3 separate regions of the Homo sapiens genome follow, and all the other regions are linked to region 1. The links are contacts of gene promoters, found by promoter capture Hi-C in human tissues and cell types (Jung and others, 2019). All regions are on one chromosome and are shown on one strand. The core of a region is centred on a gene start or on the middle of the fragment in contact, and the rest is flanking DNA. Distances in the headings are between cores, read along the strand shown.

Region 1 (5,145 bases), core at 1,901-4,400:
TTCATAAATTGTTGGAAATTCTATCAGTAAAAATGAAACATCCGAGTCTTGCTGACAGGATCTAATCCACTTGATACAGAGTAGCAGCCTTGATTTCCAAAGCAGGTGCACAGCTTCAGATAAAGGGTTTCTGGATGCAACATTTCACATGTACCTTCTTGTTTCCAGCGATTCAGGACACTGGTTTCACTTCACAGTCCTGATCCAATGTTGACCTTGCTTTGCTCTAAGCTATCATTTGGTTGTCACCTAAGCTCTACCCTCCCCCTTTATCTTGGCTTTTTCTTTTCTTTTTTCTTTTTGAGACAGGCTCTTCCTCTGTCACCCAGTCTGATTGCAGTGATGCAATTGATCACAGCTCACGGCAGCCGGGACCTCCCAAGCTCAAACAATCTTCCCACCTCAGCCTCCCAAGTAGCTGGGACTACAGGCACGCACCACCACATCCAGCTAATTTTCTTTTTTTTCTGCTTCCTTTTCTTTTTGTTTTTTTTTAGATAGAGGCTTGCTCTGTTGCCCAGGCTGGGGTGCAGTGGCACGATCTTGGCTCACTGCAACCTCTGCCTCTTGGGTTCAAGCGATTCTCCTGCCTCAGCCTCCCAAGCAGCTGGGACTGCAGGCACGCGCCACCACTCCCAGCTAATTTTTTTGTATTTTTAGTGGAGACGGGGTTTCGCCATGTTGGCTAGGCTGGTCACAAACTCCTGACCTCAGATGATACACCCACTTCGGCCTCCCACACAGCTGGTATTACAGGTGTGAGCTACCACGCCCGGCCCCCCCTCCTTTCTTTTGTTTTTTAGTTGACACAGGGTCTCACCATGGTACAGCCCAGGCTGGTCCTGAACTCCTGGCTTCAGGTGATCCTCCTGCCTTGGCCTCCCAAAGTGCTGGGACTATAGGAATGAGCCATCACACCTGGCCCCTTTCTTCAATTTTCAAAACAAACTGATCCTTCAAGGTCAAGAGGAAATACCTCCTCTGAGAAGTCTTCTCTGAATGTCAGAGGCAGACAATGTCTGATTTCTGCATGCTCCCCAACATTCAATCATACAGTTATTGAATAACACATTTTGAGAGATAACTATGAATCAAGTAACATGCTGGTTTCTGGGAGAATTGAGGACAAATTAACCTTGTGGAAATTTTGGGTGGATGAAAAAAACCAACATGAAATTAAAACACTGCACACATTTACAGCTGTGAGAAGCATTACACATCCTGGGTGCTATGCGAGCTTTTTTTTTTTTTTTTTTTTTTTTTGAGTTGGAGTTTCCCTCTTGTTACTGAGGCTGGAGTGCAAGGTCACGATCTCAGCTCACTGCAACCTCTGCCTCCAGATTCAAACGATTCCCCTGCCTCAGCTCCCGAGTAGCTGGGACTACAGGTGCCTGCCACCACACCTGGCTAATTTAGAATTTTTAGTAGGGATAGGGTTTCACCGTGTTGGCCAGGCTGGTCTCAAACTCCTGACCTCAGGTGATCTACCCATCTCGGCCTCCCAAAGTGCTGGGATTACAGAAGTGAGCCACTGAGCCCAACCAGGAGCTTTTTCGAGAAAGAAGGAAGTCCAAGAGATCTTCCTGACACCCTAGTCTGACTCTGCCCTTTGCCTGCTCAAAATTTCCCCATGCTTCCCAGCGGCCTTCTGGACATAGATCAAGTCCCTTCTCTGACAGGCCCAAACCCTTTATCATCTGATCCTAGCTCATTTTTCTGAGTTTTCCTTAGTTGCTATTATTTTCTGTCTAAAGTGACATGTCATAATATTCATAAAGCACACAAGTCTTATGTGTACAGCTCAATGAATTGTAAATATGTGTATACCCGGCCGGGCACAGTGGCTCACGCCTGTAATCCCAGCACTTTGGGAGGCCGAGGCAGGTGGATCACTTGAGGTCAGGAGCTTGAGACCAGCCTGACCAACATAGTGAAACCCCATCTTTACTAAAAATACAAAATTAGCTGGGCGTGGTGTCGCATGCCTGCAATTCCAGCTACTTGGGAGGCTGAGGCAGGAGAATTGCTTGAACCCGGAGGCAGAGGTTGCAGTAAGCCGAGATCGTGCCATTGCACTCCATCCTGGGCAACAAGAGCAAAACTCCGTCTCAAAATAATAATAATAATAATAATAATAATAATAATAATAATGTGTATACCCATGTAAACACCATTCAGATAAAAATATGGCATATTTGGGGCACCCGGGGAGTGTCTCTTGTGGCCCCTCCCCTCCATACCCTGCTGATCTATCAGCACAGATTAGTTTCTGCCACTTTTTAAACTTCATATTCCTTTTCTTTTTACACAAACACAAACATTCGAGTCATGACTGGGTGGGGTGGCTCAAGCCTGTAATCTCAGCACTTTGGGAGGCCAAGGTGCGAGGATCGCTTGAGTCTGGGAGTTCAGAGACCAGCCTGGGCAACATAGAGAGACCTCATCTCCACATAAAAAGTTTTAAAAATTAACCAGGGGCGGTGTAGTCCCAGCTACTCAGGAGGCTGAGGTGGGAGGCTTCAGCCCGGGAATTCCAGACTGCAGTGAGCCATGATTGGGCCACTGCACTCCAGCCTGGGCAACACAGTGAGACCCTGTCTCAAAAAAAAAAAAAAAAAAAACAGGAAAAAACAAACAAACAGAAAAGCAGGCCTGGCGCGGTAGCTCATGCCTGTAATCCCAGCGCTTTGGAAGGCTGAGACGGGGTTATCTCTTGGGCTCACAAGTTAGAGACAAGCCTGGGCGTGGGCTATATTGCTAGATCCAGGTCTCTGCAAAAAACAAAACCACTCAGTTTTTAGTCATCTATAACGTCCTGCCTGGAAGCATGCTATTTTGGGCCTCTGAGCTTTTGCACTTGCTAATTCCTTCTGCGCTGGGGAGAGCTCAAACCCTGCCCGAAACTTCTAAAAATGGTGCCTGGATAAATGAAGGCATTAGAGCTGCGATTGGACGGACGGCTGTTGGACGGCGCCACTGCTGGCACTTATCGGGAGATGCTCATTGGACAGTCACGTGACGGGACCAAACCTCCCGAGGGAGCGAGGCAGGTGCGGTCACGTGACCCGGCGGCGCTGCGGGGCAGCGGCCATTTTGCGGGGCGGCCACGTGAAGGACGCACGTTCAGCGGGGCTCTCACGTGACCCGGGCGCGCTGCGGCCGCCCGCGCGGACCCGGCGAGAGGCGGCGGCGGGAGCGGCGGTGATGGACGGGTCCGGGGAGCAGCCCAGAGGCGGGGGTGAGGCGGGAGGCAGACGGGCGGGAGGAGGGCGAGCCCCCTCGCCGGCCCGTCCGGGATCCTTCCTACCGGCCTGGGGCTGTGCGATCTCCAAGCACTGAGGGGCAGAAACTCCCGGATCGGGCGCTGCCAGCCTCCAGTCCCCTCCGTCCTCGGAGGTTCCTGGCTCTCTGATCCCCGTGTCCCGATCCCTGCCTCTCTGGCGCTCTCGGACCCTCGAGAACCAGGGGATCTCGGAAGCCAAGCCCCCGGGCAGGCCCGGGCTTGTCGCCCGCACCACTTCCTGCCTCTGGCACTGGTGGGAGGGGCGGGTCTCGCCTCTGCCCCCTCAGGCCAGGGGTCTGGATGCATATAGCGTTCCCCTAGCCTCTTTCCCCGGGGAGAATGTAGGATACAGGCCCAGCCTCCTGGCCTTTCTCCATCAGGGACTCAGTTGTCTGGGCCCCCCCGTCACTTTATCTGCTAGGGTCCCAGAAGTCCAGGGTCCCCAGCTCTGTCCTCCCTCAGGGGCCGTGAGTCTCCACAGTCTCCTGATCCCCTAGAACCCAAGAGTCCAGGTACCTCTTCCCTTCCTTTCTCCTCTAGGGCCCACCAGCTCTGAGCAGATCATGAAGACAGGGGCCCTTTTGCTTCAGGGGTGAGTTTGAGGTCTGATTATTGTGGCACAGATTTGAGGAGTGACACCCCGTTCTGATTCTGCACCCTCACTCCATCCCCACTCTAGTTTCATCCAGGATCGAGCAGGGCGAATGGGGGGGGAGGCACCCGAGCTGGCCCTGGACCCGGTGCCTCAGGATGCGTCCACCAAGAAGCTGAGCGAGTGTCTCAAGCGCATCGGGGACGAACTGGACAGTAACATGGAGCTGCAGAGGTGTGGGCCCCTGAGGACCCAGAAGTCCAGCCACTGGGCTCCTTCAGGACACAGGACTCTCAGCCCCGCATTCTCCTCCTCCCCTAAGAACTAGGAGTCTGGGCCCCACAACTCAGCGCAAACATTCCGGACTCCCAGCCCTCCTCTCTGCCAGGATCTTAAAACCCTCCTTCAGGGAGTCATTTTTCCCACCTTCCTAAATGTCTGTCTTGTCCCCTTCCCTTGTCCCCCGTTGGCCTGTTGCTTTTCATTTCAGCCTGGCTTGGGGCTCAGTCTCCTTATCTTTAGTGTGCGGTGGATGCGGGAATTTTCCACCATCAGCCTGATGCCTGCTCCCCGGCACTGGTTCTCCTCTCTCCTGCAGGATGATTGCCGCCGTGGACACAGACTCCCCCCGAGAGGTCTTTTTCCGAGTGGCAGCTGACATGTTTTCTGACGGCAACTTCAACTGGGGCCGGGTTGTCGCCCTTTTCTACTTTGCCAGCAAACTGGTGCTCAAGGTGGGCAGCTGCAGGGCAGTGAGCCCAGGGATGCTCCCCCTCAGATCTGTGAGGACCTGGGGATCGTGGTATCAACCCCCTGCAGTGGCCCAGTGACCACAGAGGGCATGGAGAGAGATGGCTGTGCACTGGGTGTCTGCTCCTTCTTTTATTCATTCAACAAGCATTTACTGGACCTGCTATGTGCCAGGCCTATACCTGGCACCTGGGACACAGCACTGTACAAAGCAGGCTACATCCCTGCTCTCAGGGAGTTCACGTGCAGGGGTGAAGTAAAGTGGGCAGTGTGATTTAGCAGAGTGGTCAGGAAAGATTTCTATTTTTTTTTTTTTTTTTTTTGAGATGGAGTTTTGCTCTTGTTGCCCAGGCTTGAGTGCAATGGCATGATCTTGGTTCACTGCAACCTCTGCCTCCCAGGTTCAAGCGATTCTCCTGCCTCAGCTTCCTGAGTAGCTGGGATTATGGGTGTGCACCATTATCCCTGGCTTTTTTTTTTTTTTTTTTTTTTTTTGTATTTTTAGTAGAGACGGGTTTCA
Region 2 (5,145 bases), core at 1,623-4,122, 470 kb after region 1:
TCCCAGGCTGGAGAAGGGGGTCTGGGTGTTGTCAGCTGTGGGTGGTGGCAGAAGCTGTGGGGACTGCTGAATTTGCTTGAGAGTAGAGTGGGGAGGGAGGAGGCTCCAGACACCATTTTGAGCAAAACCTCAAATGTTCTGATACGGATCGGGAAGAAAATAGAGTGTGGGAAGAGACCAGGCCAGTACCCAGCTACCAGGCCCGCGGGGAAACAGGAGGAGGCTCTTCATAGGGTCTTTGTGAGGTTAAAAGAGTTAATGCAAGCACAGCACTTAGAAGAGTGCCTGCTATATAGCAACTGCTCATTCACATTTTCATTCCATTTCTCCATGAGAGTGGCGGAAAAGTCTAGACTTTTGAAATTGCACATACCCGGATTCCAGTTATTCTTTTGTCGCTTAGTAGCTCTAACAACTTAGGAAAATTCCTCCTGACTTTCAGTCTTATTTGTAAAATTAGGCCAACTCCAGATAGTTTTGAGGAATGCAGTCTTTCCTTTGTTATTCGGAAGGACAGAGGAAACAGTCCCGCCCCCACAGTCCAAGGGCCAATTAGGGCTCGGTCCGCCTCCCGAAAATGCAAATTTTGGGACGCCTTGCCAAACACGCGCGGCGGCCCCGCTTCCCGCGCAGCAGACGCGGCCGGCTCCACTCTCTTCTTTAAACCAATGAGAGCGCGGTCCGCACGAACGGCGCCCCAGGCGCGCTGATCTAGCCCTCTGCGGACCACCGGGTTGCCATGGTTACCACGAGGGGCGGAGCTGAAGGGCAGGCTGGACCTCCGGGGAGAGAGACAGATTTCGATTGGCTCTTTTCTCGCTTCACCTGCAGCCCAGGTATCTTCCCGCCCTTTCCCTGTCCTTTTTGGAGCCTGACGCCTGCTCCTTTCTCTTCTCCTGCCCCAGCCTGGCGCCCCGAAGGTCTCTAGAGAAGGAGACCCGAAGTCAGAAAACCCTGAAAAAAATTGCTGGACGCTGCTGTGAGAAGAGGAAACCCTTTTCAAATAAAAGCGTTTTGCTACGTAACGGGCGCTGTACTGAAGTCTTATGAAGTATATCTTATTGGATCCTCGTAACAGATGAAGAAAAGGAGACACAGAGACTGACGTCAAGAAGGCTTTCTCAGTACTACGCAGCTAGATTTGGAGGACCCTGGGTTTGGATGCTAGGGCTGCCTCACACCAGAGCCCGCGATCTTTCCACTGTGCCTGGGGAGAAGTCTGGAAGTGATGGGAGGGAGGAACAGCGAAATTCAAAGATGAGAGCTGATGGAGAGACAGATAGAAACCTAACGGAGGAAAGAAAAGGAAGATATGAAGGAGTCAGGCAGAGGAAAAAGGAAAAAAGAAAGTGATGGAGAAGGGAAGGAAGAGTTTCAGAGGCAGAAGGAGAATAGAGAGAGGAGGCAGAGATTCCCAGAAGACCAGAAAGCCAAAAGGGTGAAAGGGGAGATAACCACAAGGACCCAGGGAGACGGGGACACATACCCAGAGAGGAAAGAGACCCAGAGAAAGGGACAGAGACGGAGGAGGACAGAGACCTTGGAGATTACAGAGAACCAGAGAGAAGGGGACAGAGATGGGGGTAGGGAGGGACAGGGGCCCAGAATGAAAGGAGGGGGCGGGGGGGTGGGGGCGATAGGGAAGCAGAGATCCAGAAATAGGAAAGAAGCCAGCTTCCTGGACAAAGACAGGCAGAGAGAAACGGAATTGAGGAAAGAAAATAGAGTGGGGACTGAGGAGAGAGATGCCAGAGTGGCCGACACAGAGTCCTGTCTCTTTTCTACCCCCCATTTCAAGCCCCGCGCCCCCAACCCAACGCACACGCAGGTCGCGCAGGAACTAGGCGCAGTCCGGAGCGCAGGGCATGGTCTTTATTAAGATGGGGACGGGCAGCGCGCTCAGGGCGCATCCAACACCAGCAGCTTGTGCATGTACGAGTTCAGCCAGTGGCGGCGCTCGAGGGCGGCCAGCAACCGCGCGCGCTCCCGGAAGGCCGCGTCGTCCGCCAGCGCCAGGCTCCTCCGCGGCCTGGGGGTGGCGGGATCCGCCCAGGCCCGTCCTGGGGGGCGGAGGCTGTGGAGAGACGCGGTGACCGCGCGTCCAGACTCGCTCTTGCCGCCGCCTGTCCTCCCCGCGGTCTAACTCGAAGCCCCGTTACTGCCCAGTCCGTGGAGTGGCTCGGTCCGGCTCCCCCTGTCTCTCTCGTTCTCTGTGTGGGTCTCTGTCTCTCTGCTCACCAGGTTCGAAACTCCCCAGGTACTGAGACCGAGTCTGATGCACTTGTCCGCCCACAGCGCTCAGCGCATGGCCAGGCGCACACCAAGAACCCAATAAACGTTGCTCAAAGAATGAATCCGTTTCTGCAACGACTCCTTTCGAGCCTCTCCACGCCTTTCTCGGGATCTATCTTTCTGTGTCTCTTTCCCTTGCTGATTTTCTGTCCATTTCCCGCACCACCACTACCACCAAACCCTCCTCCCGCCTTCCCCCACCCCTAGTCTCTGTCTTCTCGCTGGGTCTCGGTCGCCCTCTCTTTGGGCTTCTGTTCCGCTTTCTGGATCTTCCGTCCCCTTTCTCTTTGGTTCTCTTCCCACTTCTCCAAGTTCCCACCCCTCCCTGGGAGTTCTGGGACTGGCACCTACCTGAGGACCCCGACCGGGGGCAGGGCGACTCCCGAGGCAGTGCGGACGCCCCAGGGCACCACCAGCAGCAGCAGCAGCAGCAGCAGCAGCCGAACCCGAGGGCTCCTGGACACCTGGCGGGTCTCCATCACCTGTGGAGAACCAGAAAGGGGCTCAGTAGGGCTGCATCCCGGCCCAGAACCCCGGGCCCCACCATGCATCCACCCCCAGCTTCCCGCACAGTCCCCTACCGTGCAGTGGGCTGGGGCAGCGATGGTGGCAGCCCCCTTATATCGCCTCCGCAGCCCCCGCACCGGGCAGTGACGCAGGCCGGGGGGCCGGGGACGCGGGGTCACCCCCTCCCCAGGCTCATTAGGAGCCGCCAGCGGTAATGAGGAGCCGGGGGTGGGGGACCTGCCGCTGCCTTGGCCGCCACCAACTAATTGGGACCAGAAGCTGGACCTGAGACGAGGGAGGGGGAGAGACAGACAGACAGAGAGGTGGACACAGGGGGTGTGTCAGAGGGCTAAAAATAGAGACTGGCGGAAGGACCGTCAGAGGAACAGAGACACAAAGAGAAGGACAAAGACAGAGTGGCCGAGGAAGAAATAGAGAGAAAGAATGGGAACGACAGAAAAAGAAAGGAAAAGGAAGAAAACAAGAAAAGAGAGCGAAGGAGATGGAAACGAACAGTCAGATGGAGATGGAGGAGGGAAAGAAAAGGCTCTCAGAAAGACAGACGGAAATGGAAGGACGTCCTGGTCTGGAAGGAGCTGCCCAGAGATAAATACAGCAGCGAGAGGCCCAGAAAGATCGAGGGTGAGGTAGGGAGGGGGGAAAGGCAAGAAATGGCAAAGGGTACGTGTGGCAGGGGTGTGAGGACAGGAAAAGTGACAGACCACATCAGAAAAACCTCAGAGAGTGAGAAGAGGGGAAAACAGACAGGGCTCCTGAGCTGCCCTAAGGATGTGTCTAAGCCCTTATCTGGGAGGAGTTTGGGGGTGCTGTGAAGATTAAAGCCCAGTCCTCCTCACACTGACTCTTTTTGTGTGTGTGTGTTTGTCTGTTTGAGATGGAGTCTTGCTCTTGTTGCCCAGGCTGGAGTGCAATGGCACTATCTCGGCTCACTGCAACCTCCACCTCCCAGGTTCAAGCCATTGTCCTGCCTCAGCCTCCCGAGTAGCTGGGATTACAGGTGCCCACCATCACGCCCAGCTAATTTTTGTATTTTTAGTAGAGATAGGGTTTCGCCAAACTGTTGGCCAGGCTGGTCTTGAACTCCTGACCTTGTGATCTGCCCTCCTTGGCCTCCCAGAGTGTTGGGATTACAGGCGTGAGCCAGCACACCCAGTCCACACTGACTCTTAAGAGGGGCCTCAGCCGGGTGCTGTGGCTCATGCCTGTAATCCCAGCACTTTGGAAGGCCGTGGTGGGTGGATCACTTGAGGTCAGGAGTTCGAGACCAGACTGGCCAACATGGCGAAACTCCTTCTCTACAAAAATACATAAATTAGGTGTGGTGTAATCCCAGCTACTTGGGAGGCTGAGGCAGGAAAATCGCTTGAACCTGGGAGAGGGAGGTTGCAGTGAGCTGAGATCGCACCACTGCACTCCAGCCTGGGCAACAGAGTGAGACTCTGTCTCAAAAAAAAAAAAAAATTTAAAAAGAGGGGCCTTTATACACAGTGAGGAGAAGATGGGCAAAACTTGGAAGTCCTACAGAGCAGTAGAAACTTGGGATGTGGGAACTTGGGCTCCTAGTTTCCTAGGAAGGTGGTGGCAGAAGCTTGGACTCCTGAGTCTAAGAGTGGATGGGACAGGGACCCAGATTCCTATGTTCTGGGGAAGGAGGAGGCTGGGGACTTGGATTCCTGAATCTGAGGAAGGAAGGAGCTAGAGGACTGGAGTTCTGAGTCTGGGGGGAGGGAGCTGGGGGATACAACTTAGGGGACTTGAAATAGGAAGGTACCAGGGAACTAGACCCCTGGGTTTTCAGGTAGGAGAGGGTAGAGGGCCAGGACCACTGGTTTCAAAAAAATAATTTGGGCCACATCTCCACTAGATCAATCCAGTTTCTAACTCCCTTCCCCACCCCAGAGAAAATGTCCTTTACTTCTGTCCCTTTAAGAGTCTAAGTCTGTCGCTAGGCTCCCAGGATCCCCTGGGAGGGGGTGAGGTGCGTCACCTGTGTGCCCCTGAGACCCTACCTCCCACCGCCCTGCCCAGATCTGTTCTGCAACATTCACCGTTCTCTGCATCCAGCTCTGCTTATCTGCTGTTACCTTGGACACCAGAGCAGGTAAGAGACCCCAGGACCTCAAGTAAGCCTGTCCCATCGATGTGTCGGCCGCCTCCACCTCCACCTGAACACAGACCTATGCTTCTCTGCCCAGACTGGCCCCGGAGATGCCGAAATCCTAGCTCCATCTTCAATAACAGACTTGAGAGTCCTGCCCCAAAGCTCTCTTCTTCAAGTCCCTACCCCTCTACTCTGCAGAGCCCAGACCCCAGACCCTATTTCTG
Region 3 (5,145 bases), core at 1,120-3,619, 370 kb after region 1:
TTTTTTTTTTTTTTTTTTTTTTTTTTTTTTTTTTTTTTTTTGCAGAAATAGAAAAACACGTCCTAAAACTAACATGAAATCTCAAGGGACCCTGAACAGCCAAAATAATCTTGAAAAAGAAGAAAAACGCTGGTGTACTCACATTTCCTGATTTCAAAACATATTACAAAGCTATAGTAATCAAAATAGTGTGTTACTCACATAAAGATACAGACCAAGGGAACAGAATAGAGGGCCCAGAAACAATGTATGGAAAAATGATTTTTTACAAGGGTGCCAAGACTACTCAATGAGTAAAGGACAGTCTTTTCAACAAATGGTGCTGGGAAAACTGGATTATGTACAGGCAAAAGAGTAAAGATGGACTCTTACCTAACACCACATACAAATACACAAAATAAATCAAAGACCTAAATGTAACACTTAAAATTATAAAATTCTTAGAATAAAACATACGACAAAAGCTTCATGATAGTGGATCTGCAATGAATTCTTGGATATGATACCAAAGGCAAAAGCAACAAAAGAAGAAACAAACAGGATTTCATTAAAATGTTTTAAATTTGTGCATCAAGAGACACTATCAAAGGGGTGAAAAGATAACCCACAGAATGGGAGGAAATATCTGAAAATCATATGTATAATAAGAGATTAATATTCAGAATATATAGAGAACTCGTAAAACTCAACAACAAAGAAACAAACAACACAATTCAAAAATGGGCAAAAGACTTAAATAGACATTTCTCCAAGGAAGATATACCAATCTCCAAGAAGTACATGAAAAGATGTTCAACGTCACTAATCATTAAGGAAATGCAAATGAAAACTACAATGAGATAATACCTCGCATCCATTAGGATGGCTAATATAAAAAGGCAGAAAATAAGAAGTGTTGGTGAGGATGTGGAGAAATTGGAATCCTTGTGCCTTGCTGGTCAGAATGTAAAATGGTGCAACCACCATGGAAAACACTATGGTGGTTCCTCAAAAACTTAAAAATAGAATTACCATATGATCCAGCAATTCCACTTCTGGGTATACACCCAAAATAAGTGAAAACCAAGCCTCCAGTGGCTCAGCCTGTAATCCCAGCTCTTTGAAAGGCTGAGGTGGAAGGATTGCTTGAGCCCAGAAGTTCGAGGCTGTAGTGAGAGGTGATCATGCCACTGGACTCCAGCCTGGGAGACAGAGAGAGACCCTGTCTCTTAAAAATAATAATAATAGGCTGGGCACGGGGGTTCACACCTGTAATCTCAGCACTTTAGGAAGCTGAGGCGGGTGGATCGGCTGAGGTCAGGAGCTCGAGACCAGCCAGGCCAACACAGTGAAACCCCGTTTCTACTAAAAATACAAAAAATTAGCTGGGGGTGGTGGCGCACGCCTATAGTCCCAGCTACTTGGGAGGCTGAGGCAGGAGAATCGCTTGAACCTGGGAAGCAGAGGTTGCAGTGAGCTGAGATCGTGCCACTGCACTCCAGCCTGGGTGACAGAGTGGGACTCCATCTCAAATAAATAAATAAATAAAAAATAATAGATTCATGTTTCTTAAACACATTCTAGAACAGTTGTCCTTAAAAGCAAGCTTTACGGAAGGGAGAGAACTGAGTTTTGGCCAGCTGGCCACTTCCAACATCCATAAAGCCCCTTGAGCCCCAGGCGGACTCCTCTTCCCATATGGGTGCAACCCTCCATGGTGCCCCTACACCGTCATCCCAAGCAACTCCTAGGCTCATGCCCTGTGGGGAGTGCTCAGGATCCCCCAGAAATGCCCATTCCCCTCACATTACCTCCTTCCCTGGAACTATAACCTCCAGAAAAGGAAAATAAGGAGCTGGTGTCCCATTTCTGCAAAAAGCAGAAAATAACTGCCCTAACAGACCAGTGATGGGGCTAGACCCGGGTTTCTGCCACTCGGGCACTTGACACTGATGGCTTTCCCCAAAGGCAGGGACTGATGGCCGAATCCTGTCAAGGAATTGGCTCAAACTCGGACTGGATGAGTGAGGAGAGCCGAAGACAGTTTCCTCTGTCCTACGTGGGGGGTAAAGGAGGGACCCCTTTGATCCCTCAGCTCCACAGAGCCCAGGGCAACCAGGAGGCTCCCAGCCAGTCACCTGTCACCCGTCAGTGGAGCCCAGTGGGCCCGGGCCTCGAAAATGGCGCCCAGCCCCACACACCCCAGATGTGGGAACATTTTAGGGCTCCCTGGGCCGTGACCCTCACCCTAGCCCCAAGGCTTCTGCCAGGTTCTTCAGTCCAGCCAGTCGGACAAAAATGAGGGTGAAGAAGCCCCAGCTGAGAAGCCTAGCAATCTCCTCAGGCCCCTTCAGGCGTCGACAGATCGGTTTGGGCGACACCCCTCGATCTGCCTGGCGCGCGGCCTTTCCCGCCGATTCTCTGCGCATGCGCCGCCGCGCCCCCTCACTCTTTCCCTACAGCTGTAGCAAACACTGTAACCACTTCGCCCTCCCCAACTCCCTGCTCTCTCCCCACACGCACGCACGTGTGCACATCCTCTGACTGCTCACGCGCCACTCCCTTCCCCACCGCACCCCACCCCGACACCCACGATGCCACGCTTCAGGCGGGGCTCTAAGACAAGGCCTTTCTCTGGCACATGCACTTTGCTTCCACTTCATGTAAGGAAGAAGAGGGTAGGAAGTGGGAGAATCGTCTCATTCATTCCTTCTAGCCTTCAAACCTTTCGCATTTACTTAAAGATCGCCTACTAGAAACCAAACCTTAAATATGCGTCCAACAAGGCAGACAGGGACGTTGCCTTAAGAGAGCTCAGAAGCCTACTAGGGCTGCAGACAAGAATTAAAAACTCAAAGATTTACTTAGGTCATCCGTTCTCATACTTTCCGGTCTCTTAAGAATTATTAAGGACTCCAATAATTTATGAGTTACATTTATATGGGTTGTATGTTTATGTGAGTTGTATCTATCAATATTAAAATAAATTTCTAAAATAGTCATTGTTTAAAAATTCATTATGTGTCAAAATAACATTTTTATTTAAAATAACTATAATTTCTACTCCAAAAGAAATTTTGGCGCTGGGCGCGGTGGCTGACGCCTGTAATCCCAGCACTTTGGGAGGCCAAGGCGGGTGGATCACGAGGTCAGGAGTTCGAGACTAGCTTGGCCAACATGATGAAACCCCGTCTCTACTAAAAGTCAAAAAAAAAAAAAATTAGCCGGGCGTGGTGGCACACACCTGTAATCCCAGCTACTCGGGAGCCTGAGGCAGGAGAATCGTTGGAACCCAGGAGGCAGAGGTTGCAATGAGCCGAGATTTTGCCACTGCACTCCAGCCTAGACAACAGAGCAAGACTCCGTCTCAAAAAAAAAAAGGAAAAAAAAGAAAAAATTTGGGGAGAAGAATGGCATCATTTTACATTTTTGCAAATCTCTCTAATGTCTGGCTTCATAGAAGACAGCTGGATTCTCATATCTGCTTCTGCACTGAGTGTGTCAAAATAGCTCATGTCTTGTAGCTTCTGGCAAACATCACTATATTCAAAGAGGAAATGAAAGTGAAAGGCAAATAATATCTTAGTAGTATTATGAAAATAATGTTCACCTCATGGACCCCCAAAAGTGTTTCAAGAGCCCCCAGGAGTCCCTGAGCCACACTTTGAGAATGAAAGGCTTAAATTGTTATGATTGAACAAAGAGATGAAGAGGAAATTTTGGGGGTGCTGTAAGAATTCATCACAATCTTTGGGAATCATTCAATCTTTCAACACGTATTTATCGAGAGTCTACTAAATGCTAGGAACTGGGAATAGTGTAGAGAACAAAACAGACCCCATTCCTGCCCTCGTTTTGCTTCACACAACAAGAAAACAGATATATGATGAATCTCAAATAATTACATGATTATAAATTGTATTAAGTGCTATGACAGGCCGGGCATGGTGGCTCACGCCTGTAATCCCAGCACTTTGGGAGGCCAAGGTGGGCGGATCACATGAGGCCAGGAGTTCAAGACCAGCCTGGCCAACATGGTGAAACCCCATCTCTACTAAAAATACAAAAACGAGCCAGGTGTGGTGGTGCACGCCTGTAATCCCAGCTACTCGGGTGGCTGAGGCACAAGAATCACTTAAAACCATGAGGCAGAAGTTGCAGTAAGCCAAGATCACACTACTACACTCCAGCCTGGGTGATGGGGTAAGACCCTGTCTCAAGGAAAAAAAAAAAAGTGCTGCGACAGAAAAGGGCCACAGACCTATTTATTTCTATCGAATTTTTTTTTTTTTTGAGACAATCTCACTTTGTCACCCAGGCTGAAGTGCAGTGGCATAATCTCGGCTCACTGCAACCTCTGCCTCCCGGGTTCAAGCAATTCTCCCTGCCTCAGCCTTCCGAGTAGCTGGGGTTGCAGGTGCCTGCCATTACGCCTGGTTAATTTTCATATTTTTAGTAGAGTCAGGGTTTAGTAGAGTCAGCCTGCCATGTTGGCCAGGCTGGTCTTGAACTCCTGACCTCAGGTGATCCGCCCGCCTCAGCCTCCCAAAGTGCTGGGATTACAGGCGTGAGCCACTGCGCCCGGCCCATAGACCTAATTTAGAAGGAGGATTTCTCTAAGGAAATAACACTGGAGTTGAGGCTTAAAGGATTATTTGCTAGGTGAAAAATGTGTGTGAACATCTCAAGCCTTGAGGCTGTGCAAAGGCCCTGAGGCAGGGCAAACTGTGTGTTCAAGGCACCAGGAAAAGTCTCAGTCGGTCAATAAATATTTATTGAATGATGTGCCCCACACTGTCCTAGACCCCTGGGATATAGTTATGAAAAAGATTTTACGTTCCAGTTGCACAAAGAAAGTAAATGCCTAAATAGAAAGAATTTCAGAGAGTAAGAGTGCTGATAGGGAGTTACTTTAGACAGGGTAGTCAAGAAGGACTCTTGGGGAAAGTGATATTTCAGCAGAGAGCTGAAGGAAGGGAGCCTTGTGAACAGCATAGGGAAGAACATTCCAGGCAAAGAAAATGGCAACAGCAAAAGCCTTGAGGCAAGAAGTACACTTGATGGGTTCTGGAAATGGCAAAGAGTCTGATATGAATGGATCCCAGTGATTGAGGAAAGGGTAGCAACAGATCAGATCAGAGCAGTGGCAGGGGCCAGAGTATTATT

What was found. Contacts are between HindIII fragments. The study calls those that stand out against the background at their distance.
Region 2: a contact is called between the fragment with the promoter of PTH2 here and the fragment with the promoter of BAX in region 1, in 1 of the 25 tissues and cell types used here (spleen).
Region 3: the fragment with the promoter of SLC6A16 here is called in contact with the fragment with the promoter of BAX in region 1 in 1 of the 25 tissues and cell types used here (liver).

What each region holds. Positions count from the first base shown.
Region 1 is chr19:48,951,725-48,956,869 of GRCh38, forward strand. It overlaps BAX (BCL2 associated X, apoptosis regulator), which reads left to right and starts at 3,151. Exons shown (of 6, transcript NM_138761.4): 1 at 3,151-3,238; 2 at 3,824-3,875; 3 at 3,963-4,109; 4 at 4,474-4,609. The coding sequence starts at 3,205. RefSeq lists enhancers at 2,830-3,398, 3,399-3,966, 3,416-3,625 and a silencer at 3,146-3,295. The HindIII fragment of the contact is 13,021 bases long and covers 1-5,145 here.
Region 2 is chr19:49,420,569-49,425,713 of GRCh38, forward strand. It overlaps PTH2 (parathyroid hormone 2), which reads right to left and starts at 2,873. Exons shown (of 2, transcript NM_178449.4): 1 at 2,644-2,873; 2 at 1,851-2,074. The coding sequence starts at 2,771. The coding sequence ends at 1,900. It overlaps GFY (golgi associated olfactory signaling regulator), which reads left to right and starts at 4,820. Exons shown (of 4, transcript NM_001195256.2): 1 at 4,820-4,921. RefSeq lists a silencer at 2,989-3,192. The HindIII fragment of the contact is 12,103 bases long and covers 1-5,145 here.
Region 3 is chr19:49,322,822-49,327,966 of GRCh38, forward strand. SLC6A16 (solute carrier family 6 member 16) reads right to left here and starts at 2,370. Exons shown (of 12, transcript NM_014037.3): 1 at 2,227-2,370. RefSeq lists an enhancer at 3,534-3,683 and a silencer at 4,477-4,628. The HindIII fragment of the contact is 19,669 bases long and covers 1,025-5,145 here.